Regions from separate parts of the Homo sapiens genome. Here regions 1, 2, 4 and 5 are each linked to region 3. The links are contacts of gene promoters, found by promoter capture Hi-C in blood cells and fetal thymus (Javierre and others, 2016). All regions are on one chromosome and are shown on one strand. Each heading gives the region's core, a stretch centred on a gene start or on the middle of the fragment in contact. The rest is flanking DNA. Distances are from core to core; before and after follow the strand shown.

Region 1 (2,700 bases), core at 9-2,508, 210 kb after region 3:
AGCACACACTGCTACTGCCAGACCAGCAGGGGGAGGCCTCAGAACATGGTGCTGGCCACTTCACACCTTGGGCTGATCTCATGGGCTCAGGATTGAGAGCAGACAGGCAAGAACCCCAAGTTCCATTTTACAGATAAGGTGGTACATGCCCACAATAAATTAGTACACCTGTCTGAGGTTAGCAGCAGGACTGGGTAAAAGCTAGGAGGAGCTGGAAAGTGTGGAGGGGTGATCCTGATAGGAAAGCTTGGAGGTGAGGGCAGGGTGTGCGGGGACAGGCATCCTCAGGGTAGAGGTGTGGGCCACAGCCAGTGAAGAAGGCTGTGTCTGCCCTCAGCCATGGTCCCCACACAGTCAGCAGGGACAGTGCAGTTCACACCCCTTGTGATAACTGTGCTTGCCATGCGGTAGGCTAGCCACCCTGCTGGGCCCGCCACCCTGCAGACAGGCCTCGGGGTCAGAAAGCTCTACCACAGGACATGCTTTGTGAGAAGAAGCCACCATTTGTTTTCCTAACATGAATTCCTGGGGGTATTGAGGTAGGGGAGTGCAGCCCCAGAAGGAAGGGCTGTGGTAGAGTGGGGTGTATGAGGAAGGTAAAGTGCATGCACACGTGTGTGTGTGTGTGTGTGTGTGTGTGTGTGTGTGTCAGAGGGAGACAGAGAGACAGAAGGATATTGGGTGGGCAGAACAGGGACGAGGGACAACCCTAGGGTAAACAGGGGAAGGCCTCCCAGAGTTCCTCAGAATTAACTACATTCACTCATTCATTATAAAGAAATACTGAACACCCGCTCTACACATTACACTGCTCTAGACCCTGGGGACAGCATGTCCCTGGGTTCTTAGGGAACGAAGAATGAGGCAGACAAAAGAAATGTTAGCAAAGCCAGTCTTGAAGACCACAAAAAAGGATGATGTGAGACAGAGAGTGTGTGTGCTTAAAACCAGCTGGAGGCCTCCGAGGCACCTGTGAATGAGGAGGAGGAGTCACTGCTCTGAAAGCTGGGGAAAGACCTTTCAGGCAGAGGGAAGTGAGCACAGGGAATGGACAGAGGCTCCTCTCCAGCTGCACACCTGACCCATCTGAGAGCCCGGCCTGCCCCGGCACTCCACTTCCTGCATTCTCCGCTGCCTCTGCCTGGTTGCCTCCCTTTGCCCTTGCTGGAGCCCCACGCCCAGCCCTAGGTTTGTCTCTCCTCTTGGCTCCTGCAGGCCCTTGTCTTGCCTCTGCCACAGCACTAATCACCCAGGCTGGATGTGCCTGTTGACTTATGTGCCTTCTGTGTCACCACGTGCTCTGTCTAAAACCCAGGTCTGCACACATCCCAGCTCAGAGCCCTTCGATGTCTTCCCACTGCCTACAGGACCAAGCATGCCTCCTCAGCATGCATGGCCACTGGCCTCTGGGCATCCTTCTGGTCCCATCTCCTGCCTGCTCCCCCACCCCAAGCCCTGCCCCCAACATTCTTCATTACACCCCCTTCCCCACATAGTGGTCTCTACAACATGTCCACAAATTATTTGATCCTCCTTTCTTCAAGAGATGGAGTTTATTTCCCCTACTCTTGAGGCTAGGCCTGGTGACTCCCTTCTAACAAATAGAATATAACAGAAAAAAATGGTATGTGACTTCCAAGGCTAGGTCATCAAGACCTAATCTTGATGTCCACATGGTGATAAACTCAGGTCTCTTGCCAATAGTCATCAAGGAACTGAGGCTTCCTGCCAACAGCCATGTGGGTGCACCATGGTGGAAGTGGAGCCTCCAGCTATAGTCGAGCCTTCAGACAATGCAACCTCAAGAGAGACTCCAAGCCAGAATTGCCCAGCCACCTGCTCCTGAATTCCTGGCCCACAGAAACTAAGAGATAATGAACATTTTCCGTTTGAAGGTATGTTTTGAGGTAATTTGTAACACAGTGAGTGATAACAAATACAACCCAAATATGCCAACTGCTCTCTTTGATGCGTCTGGGCCTTTGCACATGCTATTCTCCCTGCCTGTGAAGTCTCTCCCACTGACTTTTCCACCAAACTCCCCATCATTCTTCAGGGTCCAATGGAAATGTCATCTCCTCAGTGAAACATCCCTTAACACCATCCCCAGCCCCTTACCTTGCTCCGCCTGACCCAGAGTTGGCCCCTGCCCTGTGACCTCACCAAACCCGCACGTAGCTCTAACATGGTTCTTCCTACTCCAAGTTTTCTCAGAGGCCTGTTGAGGCCACCCTACCTGCCTTTGTGAGCAGCAGAGGGATGGCACCCAGAAAGCTTCAGGAAGGCTCTGTTAACTGGCTGGAGAGCCATCAATTAGAATTTCATTCCAGTGGGATGAGAATTTTTTTTGAAGTATTTTGCACCAAATATTTTAAATGTAGAAGTCTCCATTTTTTTTTTCCTCCAAATGGTGGGAGAGCATGAGGACTCATCAATAAGAGACTTCATCTTACTCTGTTCCAACAAATTGGGCAAGGGGTCCAACCTACCTGGATCAGAGCAAGCACTTTGTCCTGTACAATGGTGGGAGGGTTGTTCTTGGGAGATATAATTTTGACCAGAACACTGTCGATGAAATCTCGGTTGGCCACAAGGATGTGGAAGCGGTGGCCACAGTTCTTCACACATGTCTCCAGCACCTGATGTGGGGAGGGAAGGAAAAGGGTCACCCCAGTGGGAGCTGGAGAAGACACTGGGAAC
Region 2 (2,700 bases), core at 177-2,676, 190 kb after region 3:
CAAGTCCCAGTGTGCCATACAGGGTTAAAGCAGAGGGAAATGCTGTTCCCACCTACCTGGGCACTGGAGGGTGCCAGTGAGTTAAGGGGATAAGACATGAAGGATAAGTCTCTCCTTCTCACAGCTCAGCCTCAAAACGACTTCATTTTGAAACCGTTTCTGGTAGAAGTAACTGATTTATTCACAGGAGACACGGCAATCTCTCTTTAGTTCCTCATATTGTCTCATAATCTTGCTAGCTTGGCTACAGGGTCTTCCTTCCTACCACATCATAAACTCTTGAGGGGGTGTTACCATTTATCCACTCAAGGATGCCCTCAAGCCCCGCACTGAGCCACACACAGTGAAAAAGCCCAGTAATCATCTGCTGAACACATCACCAAGGTGGTCAATCAGCCAGTGGGGAATCAAAGGCATCCCCCCTGCATGTCCCTGGTATCCTGCAACACAGCACTCACACAGGGGCTGGGCTTCTTATCTGCCCTCCCGTCTAGACTGAAGCTCCTTGAGGGCAGAGAAGGTATTTCCCTGGTACCCATGACACATGGGAGGCTCTCCCCAAGTACTTCTGAGAGAATTAATTAATGACTCTAAAGTATTCAGAGGCCGGGGCCAGGTGTGGTGGCTCACGCCTGTAATCCCAAAACTATTGGAGGCCGAGGCGGATGGATCACGAGGTCAGGAGATCGAGACCATCCTGGCTAATACGGTGAAACCCCGTCTCTACTAAAAACACAAAAAATTAGCCGGGCGTTGGTGGCGGGCACCTGTAGTCCCAGCTACTTGGGAGACTGAGGCAGGAGAATGGCGTGAACCCAGGAGGCGGAGCTTGCAGTGAGCCGAGATCACGCCACTGCACTCCAGACTGGGAGAGAGAGCGAGACTCCATCTCAAAAAAAAGTATTCAGAGGCCAAGTGCGGTGCCTCATGCCTGTAATCCCAGCACTTTGGGAGGCCGAGGCAGGCGGATCACTTGAGGTCAGGAGTTTGAGACCAGCTTGGCCAACATGGTAAAACCCCATCTCTACGAAAAAATACAAAAATAAATTGGGCACAGTGGCATGCACCTGTAATCCCAGCTATTCAGGAGGCTGAGGTGGGAGAATTGCTTGAATCCGGGAGGCAGAGGCTACAGTGAGCAGAGATTGCACTACTGCACTCCAGCCTGGGGAACAGAGTGAGACCCTGTCTCCAAAAAATAAAAATAAAATATAAAGTATTCTGAACTCTTGGTCCCCGCAAATTACCAGCTCAGTTATCCACATACTCTCAGTCTTCTCAGCACTCTTCACTCAGAGAATGGGGAATTCTTGTTCATCCAGGATCTAATTTTCCCTCTCTAGGACTCATCCCAGGCCCCACTGAACCAGCAGTAAGCACTTATAAACATACAGACAAGTGCTAGAATTAATAAGAGGTGAATACGGGATCTTAATTGCAGGGGACACTACTATCCAGTAAAGAGAAAACTCCACAAAATACCCACTCTCCTCTGTTGTGAATGGCTCATGTCCCCAGGCCAGGCAGGAGAGGGGCTCTCAAAAAGCTGCCTGGGCCTTGGGGCCTGCCAGACGTGGTCTGGATTGCCAGGCAATAATGGCCACAGGCGCCAATGGACACTCACAGGTCAAAACCCAGTCACAATTACTGTACACAGGAAAACCAACAACACAGGGGAAACACTCATTACAGAATGAAGCATACTCAGGAGTGATGCAGAAAACCAAGGCAGGCCCTTAACATTAAAACAAACAAAAACAAAATAAAAATGTCCAAACTTATGAAAGAAACAATCACATAGATCACGTGAAGGATTCCAACAGCCAGGACTGAAGTGAACAATTAAAATAATTATAGTATTTCTAATAGATTGTTAAAACACAGTGAGCATCTGTTCAGGGCTGACAGAGGAGCACAGATTTAGGTTAACTTTGACAGACCATCCTCCCCTGCTTCCTAAAAGAAAAAAAGGATACTTGGCCAACACTTGGGCAGTAGATTTACCCCATACTTTGGAAGAAGCACCAGAGGGAGACCTGGCCAAAGTGTGCAGGATGGAAAAGGGAGGCTGGGCAGTAGGACAGAGAAAAGAGGTCAAACAAACTTCTGCCTCTCTGCTCTGCCATGGACTGTTCCGGGCCACCGTGCGGGTCTCCTCCCCAGGGATGTGGACGTGCCAACACACATGAGGACCGAGCCAGGCACTGCTGAGCTCCTCTTTGCTCCAGCGCTCCAGGTGTCTGCGGAAAATCTCTGATGAGCAAAAGGATCTCAAGTCCCAGCTCAGGACCCACCCCCTCCAGCAAACAGGCCCATTACAAGAAAGTGTGGCCTCTGGGGCTTGTGGCCTAGCAGCAAGCCCTGGCTGTCCTTGGCTGGGGAGGGAGAAGGAAAAAAGTCAATCACTTCTCATGCAAACTGCAGGCCAATCACAAGGCACAGGACGTGCAAGTCAGGGGAGTGTGGCAGTAGGTTGTGGGAAACAGATCCAAGTTACCCTCCAGAAGACTGGGGTATCAGCACCTAAGGCCCACAGGCCATCTTCAAATACACCTCAGACTTTCCAGAATATAGGTGGCCTCAGGCACTTGCCACACTGCTTAAGGGCTCCTGAGAAGTTGGCCATCTGCCTGCAATGTCCCTTATTTCCTTTTCCATCAAACAAACTCTTACTCATCCTTCAAGGCCTCAGGATGTTTC
Region 3 (2,700 bases), core at 133-2,632:
CATGCACAGAAGGGGCACAGCAGGCCTGGGACAGAGTGAGGGCCCCCCATCTATCACAATACCTTATTTTGCAGATGCAGGATTCACTTGTCCCAGGTCACCCACAAGCTCTGATGCCTTGACCAGCTCCCCTCTGCCCTACCAAAGGACAAATGAGGGAGGCTTCGATGGGGCTGTTAATGGGGTCATATCCCACAGACCCTAGAGCCTGGGTGGGGCTGAGAGGCTTCCCAAGCAGGTGGCAGTGAGCTCCCACCTGAGCTATGGCAAGTAGAGACCTAGGCATGAAATTGCTCCGAGGTCTGTACCTTAAGTTTCATGCAAGGACTCTCTCATTCAACATGCCTCTGTTTAAAGTCTGCCAGTGGCTACCTTCCTTGCACTAGAATTGCAAACAAATTCCTCACTGAGCTCTCTGCAGCCCTGCAGGCTCTGGCCCTCCCGATATGGCTCTGACTTCAATGTGCCCATTACTTGTCCCCTTGCTGACGGCCTCCTCACAATTCCACTTACTCACCAAGTTCTCTCCTGCCTCAGGACCTTTGCACTTGATGTTCTTTCTGCCAATGATGCTCTTCCCAGGAGGGCAGGCCCCTGTAGTCCCAGCTACTCAGAAGGCTGAGGTGGGAGGACTGTTTGAGGCCAGGAATTCAAGTTCGGCCTGGGCAACACAGCAAGACCCTGCCTCTAAAAGAACAAAATGCTCTTCCCAGACTCTACCCATGGCGGTTCCTCTTGCTATTTAGATCTTTGCACAGACAGGCCTCCTTCTCTCTCCCCCAGCCAAGGAGCCCTAGCCGTCACTTCACCTGCTAATTTTCGTCCTAGCACTTACTGCTCTAAAATTATCTTCGTCATGTATCTAAGCATTTGTTTGCTGTCTGTCTCTTCCCACCAGGATGCCAGCTCCACGACAGCAGGGACCGCATTGTCTCTGCTGATTCCTCAAGACTCAGCAAGGTGCCAGGTGCCCAGTAAATGAAGTTTACATGAAGCCAATGGAGTTTTGAAATCGAAAATGTTTCTCAAACTGCAAAGAAGTGGGCACAGGTGAGGGCTAATGGTGGGGTGAGGGTGGGGGCCTGGCCTGACGCTGGAAGCTCCTGTACGCAGGGCGCTAGTGTCCTCCCAGGCCGCACCGGGATCCCACCGCAGAGGCCCCCTCCCGCAGGCCGGCCAGCGGGCGGGGGGCGCGCAGTGGGGCGCGCGGACCGCCAGGGGGTGCTGTCGGGGCGCGCACGGCCCACCTGGCGCCCGGGGCCGCGAGCGAGCGCAGCCAGGCCGCCCGGGAACTTTTTTCCTCGCGCTCTTGCTCTCCTTCTCCCCCCGCGCGTCGCCCGCCCGCCCGTCCGCTCGTCCGCTCTTCCTGTGCGGAGGGGATCGCATTCCTCGCGGCACCCGCGGACACCAGGCAGGCCCGGCCGGGTGCGCGGCCAAGGCCCGCTCCCCGCGTCCCCGGGCGCCGCCCCCGCCCGCGGCTGGGCTCCGAGAGACGAGTGGGAGAGCGAGTGCAGCGAGGGCGAGAGGCGAGCCGAGCAGGCCGCCCTGCCCGCGGCCCTAGCGCCGGCGCGAGGAGGGGGCGCCGCGGCCCACCCTCCTTCCTGCCTGGCCGCGGGCCGGCCGGGCCGCCGCGCCCCGACCCCCATGGCCACCCAGGCCTCCGGGCCGCGAAGTCGCAGCGCCAGACCCAAGGCCCCCGAGTGAGCGCGGGCGCCGAGGTGAGCAGCGAGCGCCGGGGCGCGGGGGGCGCAGTGTATCCTGCCCCGGGGCGGGGGCGGCGCGAGGCGTCGGGATCCTAGGCCGGGTGATGAGCCGAGGCGGGTTCGGACGCCGAGCGCGCGCGCTGGGTGGAGATGTGGGGTCCGCGGGGTCCTTGCTTTGTGTGGTGTGGGGGGTGCGCGAGGTCACCGGATGGACGTCTGGGGAGCTGCAGGGTGGGGGCGCCCTGCGCCGCGGCTGAGGGTCTTCTGGGGGATGTGCGGCCAGCTGAGGTCGGGTGGGGGCATGGGGGCGCGAGGGGCGAGTGTGGCAAGGGATCTGCTTGCGCCGAGGCGCGGAGTCTTTGCGGAGCGTGGGGTGGGGACGTGGGGTGCATTCGCGGGGCGCCGGGGGCGGAGGTGAGCTTTGTGAGTGCGTCCGAGGTGGGGGACGGGGAGCTGACTTCCCCATGCGTGACCCGGGCCCGGCGTGGCCATCGCTTGGGAGTCAGGGCCGGCGAAGGCCGTGCGTGGCGAGATGGGTGCTCGGGCTCTCTGCGGTGTCCCTACCCGGGCAGCGGCCCCGGGGCCTGTGCGCAGGCCCCGAGGCCGGGCAGGAAGCGGCCCCCGCGACCTGGGGAGCTCTGTAGCGGCCAGGCCCGGGAGGCACGGGCCCTTCGGGGATGACGTCACGGGCGGGGGCCCCGGACACGCGAGCCTTGCGCCCCACAGACGGCGGCGCAGCCCGCCGCCCTTTTCGAGGCCGGCCCCCCCTCTCACGCGCCTTGAAGGCAGGGAACCCGGGAGGAGGACATGGGGGCCGAGTGCGGCGGGGACAAGGGGTGGCAGGACGCGAGGGTGACATTTGGAGCCTGGTCGCGCCAGGGGCCTCCGTGGTGGGGCGGAGGGGAAGCGAAACACCAGCCAGGCCCTAGGCCGTCGCGGCCCCAGCTTCCTGGGGCGCCCGTTTTCCCGGCTAGCAGTTTTCTTTCTTGGGGCTCTT
Region 4 (2,700 bases), core at 142-2,641, 240 kb after region 3:
CTATTTTATGGTTGTCTTTTCACTCTCTTGATTGTATCTTTTAATGCACAAAAGTTTTAAATTTTGATTGTCCCATTTATCTATTTTTTCTTTTGTTGCCTGTGGTTTTGGTACCATATCTCAGAAATCTTTGCTAAATCCAATGTCATGATTTCCCCTTTTTAAGATTTTTTTTTTTTTTTTTGAGATGGAGTCTTGCGCTGTCACCCAGGCTGGAGTGCAGTGGCGCGATCTCAGCTCACTGCAAGCTCTACCTCCTGGGTTCACGCCCTTCTCCTGCCTCAGCCTCCTGAGTAGCTGAGACTACAGGCGCCCACCACTATGCCAGGCTAATTTTTTGTATTTTTAGTAGAGACGGGGTTTCACTGTGTTAGCCAGGATGGTCTCGATCTCCTGACCTCGTGATCTGCCTGCCTTGGCCTCCCAAAGTGCTGGGATTACAGGCATGAATCACCGCGCCCGGCCTATTTTAAGATTTTTATAGTTTTCCCTTCGCTCTTATGTTTAGGTCTTTGGTCTGTTTGGGGTTCATTTTTGCATATGGTATAAGATAATGGTCCGACTTCACTCTTTTGCATGTGGATATTCAGTTTTCCCAGCACCATTTGTTGAAAAGACTGTCCTTTCCCCTCTAAATACTTTTGGCACCCTTGCTGAAAATCAATTGACCATATACGGGAGAGTTTATTTCTGAGTTCTCTACTTTATTCCATTGGTCCATGTGTCTTTCCTTATTCCAATACCATGATGTTGTGATTATTATAGTTTTGAAGTAAGTTTTGAAATCAGGAAGTGTGAGTCCTCCAACTTTGTTCTTTTTAAAGGTTGTTTAGGGCCAGGCGCAGTGGCTCACGCCTGTAATCCCGATACTTTGGGAGGCCGAGGTGAGTGGATCTCATGAGGTTAGGAGTTTGACACCAGTCTGGTCAACACAGTGAAACCCTGTCTCTACTAAAAATACAAAAATTAGCCAGGCACAGTGGCTCACACCTGTAATCCCAGCATTTTGGGAGGCCGAGGCAGGTGGATCACGAGGTCAAGAGATTGAGACCATCCTGGCCAACCAACATGGTGAAACCCCATCTCTACTAAAAATACATAAATTAGCTGGGCGCAGGGGCACACACCTATAGTCCCAGCTACTCCGGAGGCTGAGGCAGGAGAGTCACTTGAACTCAGCAGGCAGAGGTTGCAATGAGCCGAGATCACGCCACTGCACTCCAGCCTGGGAGACAGAGTGAAACTCCATCTAAAAAAATTAAAAAATTTAAAAAATTAGCTGGGCGTGGTGGCGCACACCTGTTGTCCCAGGTGCTTGGGAGGCTGAGCCAGGAGAATCACTCGAACCTGGGAGGCAGAGGTTGCAAAATGAGCCAAAATCACATCACTGCACTCCAGCCTGGGCGACAGAGCAAGACCCCATCTCAAAAAAATAAATAAAAATAAATAAAAATTAAAGGTTGTTTGGCTATTTGGGGTCCCTTGAGATTTCATGTGAATTTTAGGATGGATTTTTCTATTTCTGAAAAAAATACCATTGGTCTTTTTTTTTTTTTTTTTTTTTTTTTTTTTTCAGAGACAGGGTCTTGCTATGTTGCCCAGTCTGGACTCAAACTCCTGGGCTCAAGCAATCCTCCCATCTTAGCCTTCCAAGTAGCTGGGAATACATGTGCATGCCACCATGCCTGGCTTCATTGCAATTTTAACTGGGATTTCATTACATCTGTAGATCACTTTGGGTAGTGTTGTCATCTTAAAAATATTAGCTTCCCAGGCCAGCTCATGCCTGTAAATCCCATCACTTTGGGAGGCCAAGGTGGGAAGACTGCTTGAGCTCAGGAGTTTAAGAACAGCCTGGGCAACATAAGGAGACCCCATCCCTACAAAAAATTTAAAAATTAGCCAGGAGTGGTGGCTTACACCTGTCATTTCATCTACTCAGGAGGCTAAGGTGGGAGGATGACTTGAGCCCGGGAGGTCAAGGCTGCACTGAGCCGTAATTGAGCCACTGCACTCCAACCTGGGCAACACAATGAGGCTGCCTTAAAAAAAAACTGTCTTCCCATCTATGAACACAGGATGTTTTTCCATATATTTATGTCTTCTTTCTTCTTTAATTTCTTTCAGCAACGTTTTATAGTTTTCGGTGCACAATTTTTTGCTGCCTTGGTTAATTCCTAGGTATTTTATTTTTTTAGAGGCTAGTGTAAATGGAATTGTTTTCTTTTCTTTTCAGATTGTTCATTGTTAATGTATATTAACAGAAACACAACTGATTTTTGAATGTTGATTTTGTATCCTGCAGCTTTGGTAAATTTATGTTATTCGCTCTAGCAGTTTTTCTTTTTTTTTTTGTTTTGTGGTATCTTCAAGGTTTTCTACATGTAAAGTCATGTCATCAGGGAACAGAGATAATTTTACTCCTTCCTTTCCCATTGAGATGCCTTTTATTTCTTTTTCTTCCCTAACTGCTCTGGCTACAATTTCCAATACCATGTTGAATAGAAGTGGTGAAAGGCAGCATCGTTGCGCCTATATATATTTTTACAAAACACAGTCATACACCATGAGAGCAAACAAAGCTGAAGAGAAGACCCATTTGAGTCCTTATTCCATAAAAAATTGCAAGAGGGTGAAAACAGGAACCATAACAGGATCTGCAGGTCTTTGCAAGCCCTGAGAAAGTCACCTCAGACTTCT
Region 5 (2,700 bases), core at 201-2,700, 130 kb after region 3:
TTCCTGTACATATGACTGTAAAATGGTAAACGTGTGTATTATATCTGGCCTCGTTATATAGTGTATATATATGTATACATATACATATATATAATATATATGAAGACTGTAAATGTTAAGACGACTAGTGTTCTTATTAGTATATTGCTTCACACTGAAGATTGTGTGTATCGAGCTGTTTCTAAAAGATGTTTATTTTCCTTAAGAGTAAAAAACAGTCATTGCATTCAGAAAAAAAAAAAAAAAAAAGTCAATAAAGATACAACGATTGTTTTGGAAAATCTGCAGCCCGTGGATTCCGACCAGATTCAGCTGGGAGCCGGGCCAGGCTTTAGGTTGGGGAATGGGAATGAAGGGAGGGGCTGGGGGGGGGGGCATGAATGGAGTCAGGGAGTCGGCCTTTCACAGAACAGGAAACCTCCCCCGCCCCTGTGCCCCCTCTCCAGTGTGGCGGCAGGTCGGGAGGGAGGAGGCTTCTTTGCTGTGAGATGACCAGGGGCCGGGATGGGGGAGGTGAGACGTGCCAGACTTCTTGCAGGGAGACCCAAGCTGTAGCTCCTGTCACACAACAGGTCCTGGAAGTCAGTCCATCCTCCCGTGCCACCCAGGGACCTGATGGGGACAGAGCTGGGAGGTGAGAAGGGACAACTGACCCCATGGAGGCCCTAAGGGTTGACACAGCCCAACCATGTGCCCTGGGAGCAGGGGGAACAGGTAGGCTGGAGGCCATACAGCCAGCCCTCCCCACTCCTCCCACTAACAAACAAACATCGGGAAGAGCTAAGTTAAAAGTTGTGTACCTTGTGGCCGGAGGGGGAGGGGAAGCCTTTCCCTAGGTGCTGGGGGAGGGCCCAAGCACTCTCACTAGTCAGCACATCCATCAGCTGAAGACACAAAACCCAGATTATAAATAATTTCATTTTTAATTCTCTGTACAAAACTTCTCAATCTATGAAAATAAAGTTTGCAAAAGGCAAAGTAGCACAGGAGCCTCAGGTCAGGAGGCTAAGCACGCTGACCTACACTATGTACACGTCTCTCTCCCACGACGGAGAGAGAGGCCTCTGGGGCAGAGCCCTGCTTGCAGTCCGGGAAAGCCAAGTTGGCTTCCGTCAGCACAGGGAAATGTACCCCTCTCTTCCCTGTACACAGGAGGAAAAAAGCCACTAAGGTGCCTGCAGAGCAAGGAGGGGGGCCCCCCAAAATGGCTCGGCCCCTGCAGTGCCCCGATCGGCCACCAGAGGTCAGCACCATCATGGCCGCCGGTCTTAGGGTCAAGATCGCGCCCCTCGGGCCTTCCACCGCGAAGGCACACAGCAGCCGCAGGTCGAACTGTGGAGGCCAGAGTCTCTTGCACTGCCTTCGGCCTTCAAAGCTTCGACGCAGGACAGAAGCTGCACGGGACCAAAGTGGCTAGAGACAGGGGTGCTGAGGCCGGGGACACGGGGTCTAGCTGGAAGTGACAGTGGTCCCACCGCCCAGGCGCATGAGCATCTGCTGACAGTCGTGCAGCAGCCGGCGATCGCCAAGCTTCTCGAGTGTGCGCGCCGCCTCAGCCAGCATGCCCACGCGCTGCCCGGGCGCCGACAGGAAGCCGGGGGGCAGGTAGCAGGAGGCCAGCAGCAAGGCCTCCGCGTGCTCCCGCCGCGTGGGCCGCGGCTCCAGCTCCGCCACCGCGCCTGCGCACACGAGGATGTGTCAGGGATGGGTCTCAAGCTGGCCACGCCCCCGCGGGAGCCCTGCCCACACACAAGCCACGGCACCAGCCGCCTGTACCTGGCACACAGGTACCTGGCGGGGGCCTGGCGGGTTCCCCTCTCCCCACCCTAGTCTCAGCCCACACACAAAGTCCACAGACTGAGTCACGCACGTGCAGTCATGTATCCCACAAATGACAGTCACCCCACTGATTCCTTGTGAAAGGAATTGTCATCAGGTAACCATCAAGAAGATGCTTGGTCTTTTTTTTTTTTTGAGACAGGGACTCTCCCTGTCACTCAGGCTCACTGCGGCCTCCAACTCCTGGGCTCAAGCTGTCCTCCCAACTGAGCCTCCCAAAGTGCTAGGTGTGAGCCACTGCGCCAGGCCTGTCTGTCCCGTCTGACACACACACAGCCTCCCTTGGTATCACATCCCATGTGCGCCCTTCCCTGCTGAGCAGACAGCACATCCCTGGTCAGCAGCTGCCCCCTCACCTCCTTTGCCACCGGGGCCTGCCCGCCGCCTCAGACTGCGGTCGAGGAGCTGGTGTGTCCGTGTGGGGCTGGCCCCCGCCATCAGCCGGGCCGTGGCCTCATGTAGGAACACCTGGGGGCCAGGAGAGTGGAGGCTCAGGGCTCTCCATCTCCACCACTGCCTGACTCCCCGTCTTGAGGACAGGGCCATCGGGCACTCACCCTCCGCATGGCGGGCCGGAAGCTCTGTGCCAGCCGCCTCAGGCTGCTCAGGTCCCGTTGGAAGCCACGCAGCTCAAGGGCGGAAGCCTGGGGCCTGCTGCTGGTGCCCTGGGCTGCTGGGGCCGGGGCCGGGGGCTGCTGCTGCCGCCACAGGCTGGTGCGCACCACAAGAAGCAGGTCACACAGGAACAGCTGCACGGCCTGGGGGTGGCAGGCAGGGCAGGGGTCACCAGGGCTCCAGCTCTGGGAGGGGCAGGATGGGGGCCCGTGGTGCCAGGGGCCGGCTCCGGGCTGCACTGCCGAG

Evidence for each region. The method cuts DNA at HindIII sites, captures the fragments that hold promoters and counts their contacts. A CHiCAGO score of 5 or more calls a contact.
Region 1: a contact is called between a fragment that was not itself captured here and the fragment with the promoter of RAI1 in region 3, in 3 of 17 cell types (fetal thymus, total CD8 T cells and erythroblasts). The highest score is 6.7, in fetal thymus.
Region 2: a fragment that was not itself captured here is called in contact with the fragment with the promoter of RAI1 in region 3 in 14 of 17 cell types (naive CD4 T cells, naive B cells, endothelial precursors and 11 more); the score reaches 8.7 in naive CD4 T cells.
Region 4: a contact is called between a fragment that was not itself captured here and the fragment with the promoter of RAI1 in region 3, in 10 of 17 cell types (total CD4 T cells, fetal thymus, total CD8 T cells and 7 more). The highest score is 9.0, in total CD4 T cells.
Region 5: a contact is called between a fragment that was not itself captured here and the fragment with the promoter of RAI1 in region 3, in 16 of 17 cell types (naive B cells, total CD8 T cells, megakaryocytes and 13 more). The highest score is 21.5, in naive B cells.

Annotation. Positions count from the first base shown.
Region 1 is chr17:17,891,172-17,893,871 of GRCh38, forward strand. TOM1L2 (target of myb1 like 2 membrane trafficking protein) reads right to left here. Exons shown (of 15, transcript NM_001082968.2): 4 at 2,490-2,639. Among named protein-coding and RNA genes, the nearest start is that of SREBF1, 56 kb to the left of the region's middle. The HindIII fragment of the contact is 2,028 bases long and covers 245-2,272 here.
Region 2 is chr17:17,870,479-17,873,178 of GRCh38, forward strand. The region is part of intron 7 of TOM1L2 (target of myb1 like 2 membrane trafficking protein); the gene reads right to left. Among named protein-coding and RNA genes, the nearest start is that of SREBF1, 35 kb to the left of the region's middle. The HindIII fragment of the contact is 6,030 bases long and covers 1-2,700 here.
Region 3 is chr17:17,680,076-17,682,775 of GRCh38, forward strand. RAI1 (retinoic acid induced 1) reads left to right here and starts at 1,383. Exons shown (of 6, transcript NM_030665.4): 1 at 1,383-1,718. RefSeq lists silencers at 1,104-1,613, 1,644-1,783, 1,844-1,923, 1,935-2,107, 2,094-2,700 and an enhancer at 1,424-2,025. The HindIII fragment of the contact is 10,976 bases long and covers 1-2,700 here.
Region 4 is chr17:17,915,908-17,918,607 of GRCh38, forward strand. All of the region lies in intron 1 of TOM1L2 (target of myb1 like 2 membrane trafficking protein), which reads right to left. Among named protein-coding and RNA genes, the nearest start is that of TOM1L2, 55 kb to the right of the region's middle. The HindIII fragment of the contact is 8,009 bases long and covers 1-2,700 here.
Region 5 is chr17:17,811,173-17,813,872 of GRCh38, forward strand. RAI1 (retinoic acid induced 1) reads left to right here. Exons shown (of 6, transcript NM_030665.4): 6 at 1-281. SREBF1 (sterol regulatory element binding transcription factor 1) reads right to left here. Exons shown (of 19, transcript NM_004176.5): 17 at 2,397-2,597; 18 at 2,196-2,307; 19 at 162-1,679. The coding sequence ends at 1,450. MIR6777 (microRNA 6777) reads right to left here and starts at 2,373; the gene lies at 2,308-2,373. It overlaps MIR33B (microRNA 33b), which reads right to left; the gene lies at 2,664-2,700. RefSeq lists an enhancer at 1,585-2,143. The HindIII fragment of the contact is 155 bases long and covers 1,374-1,528 here.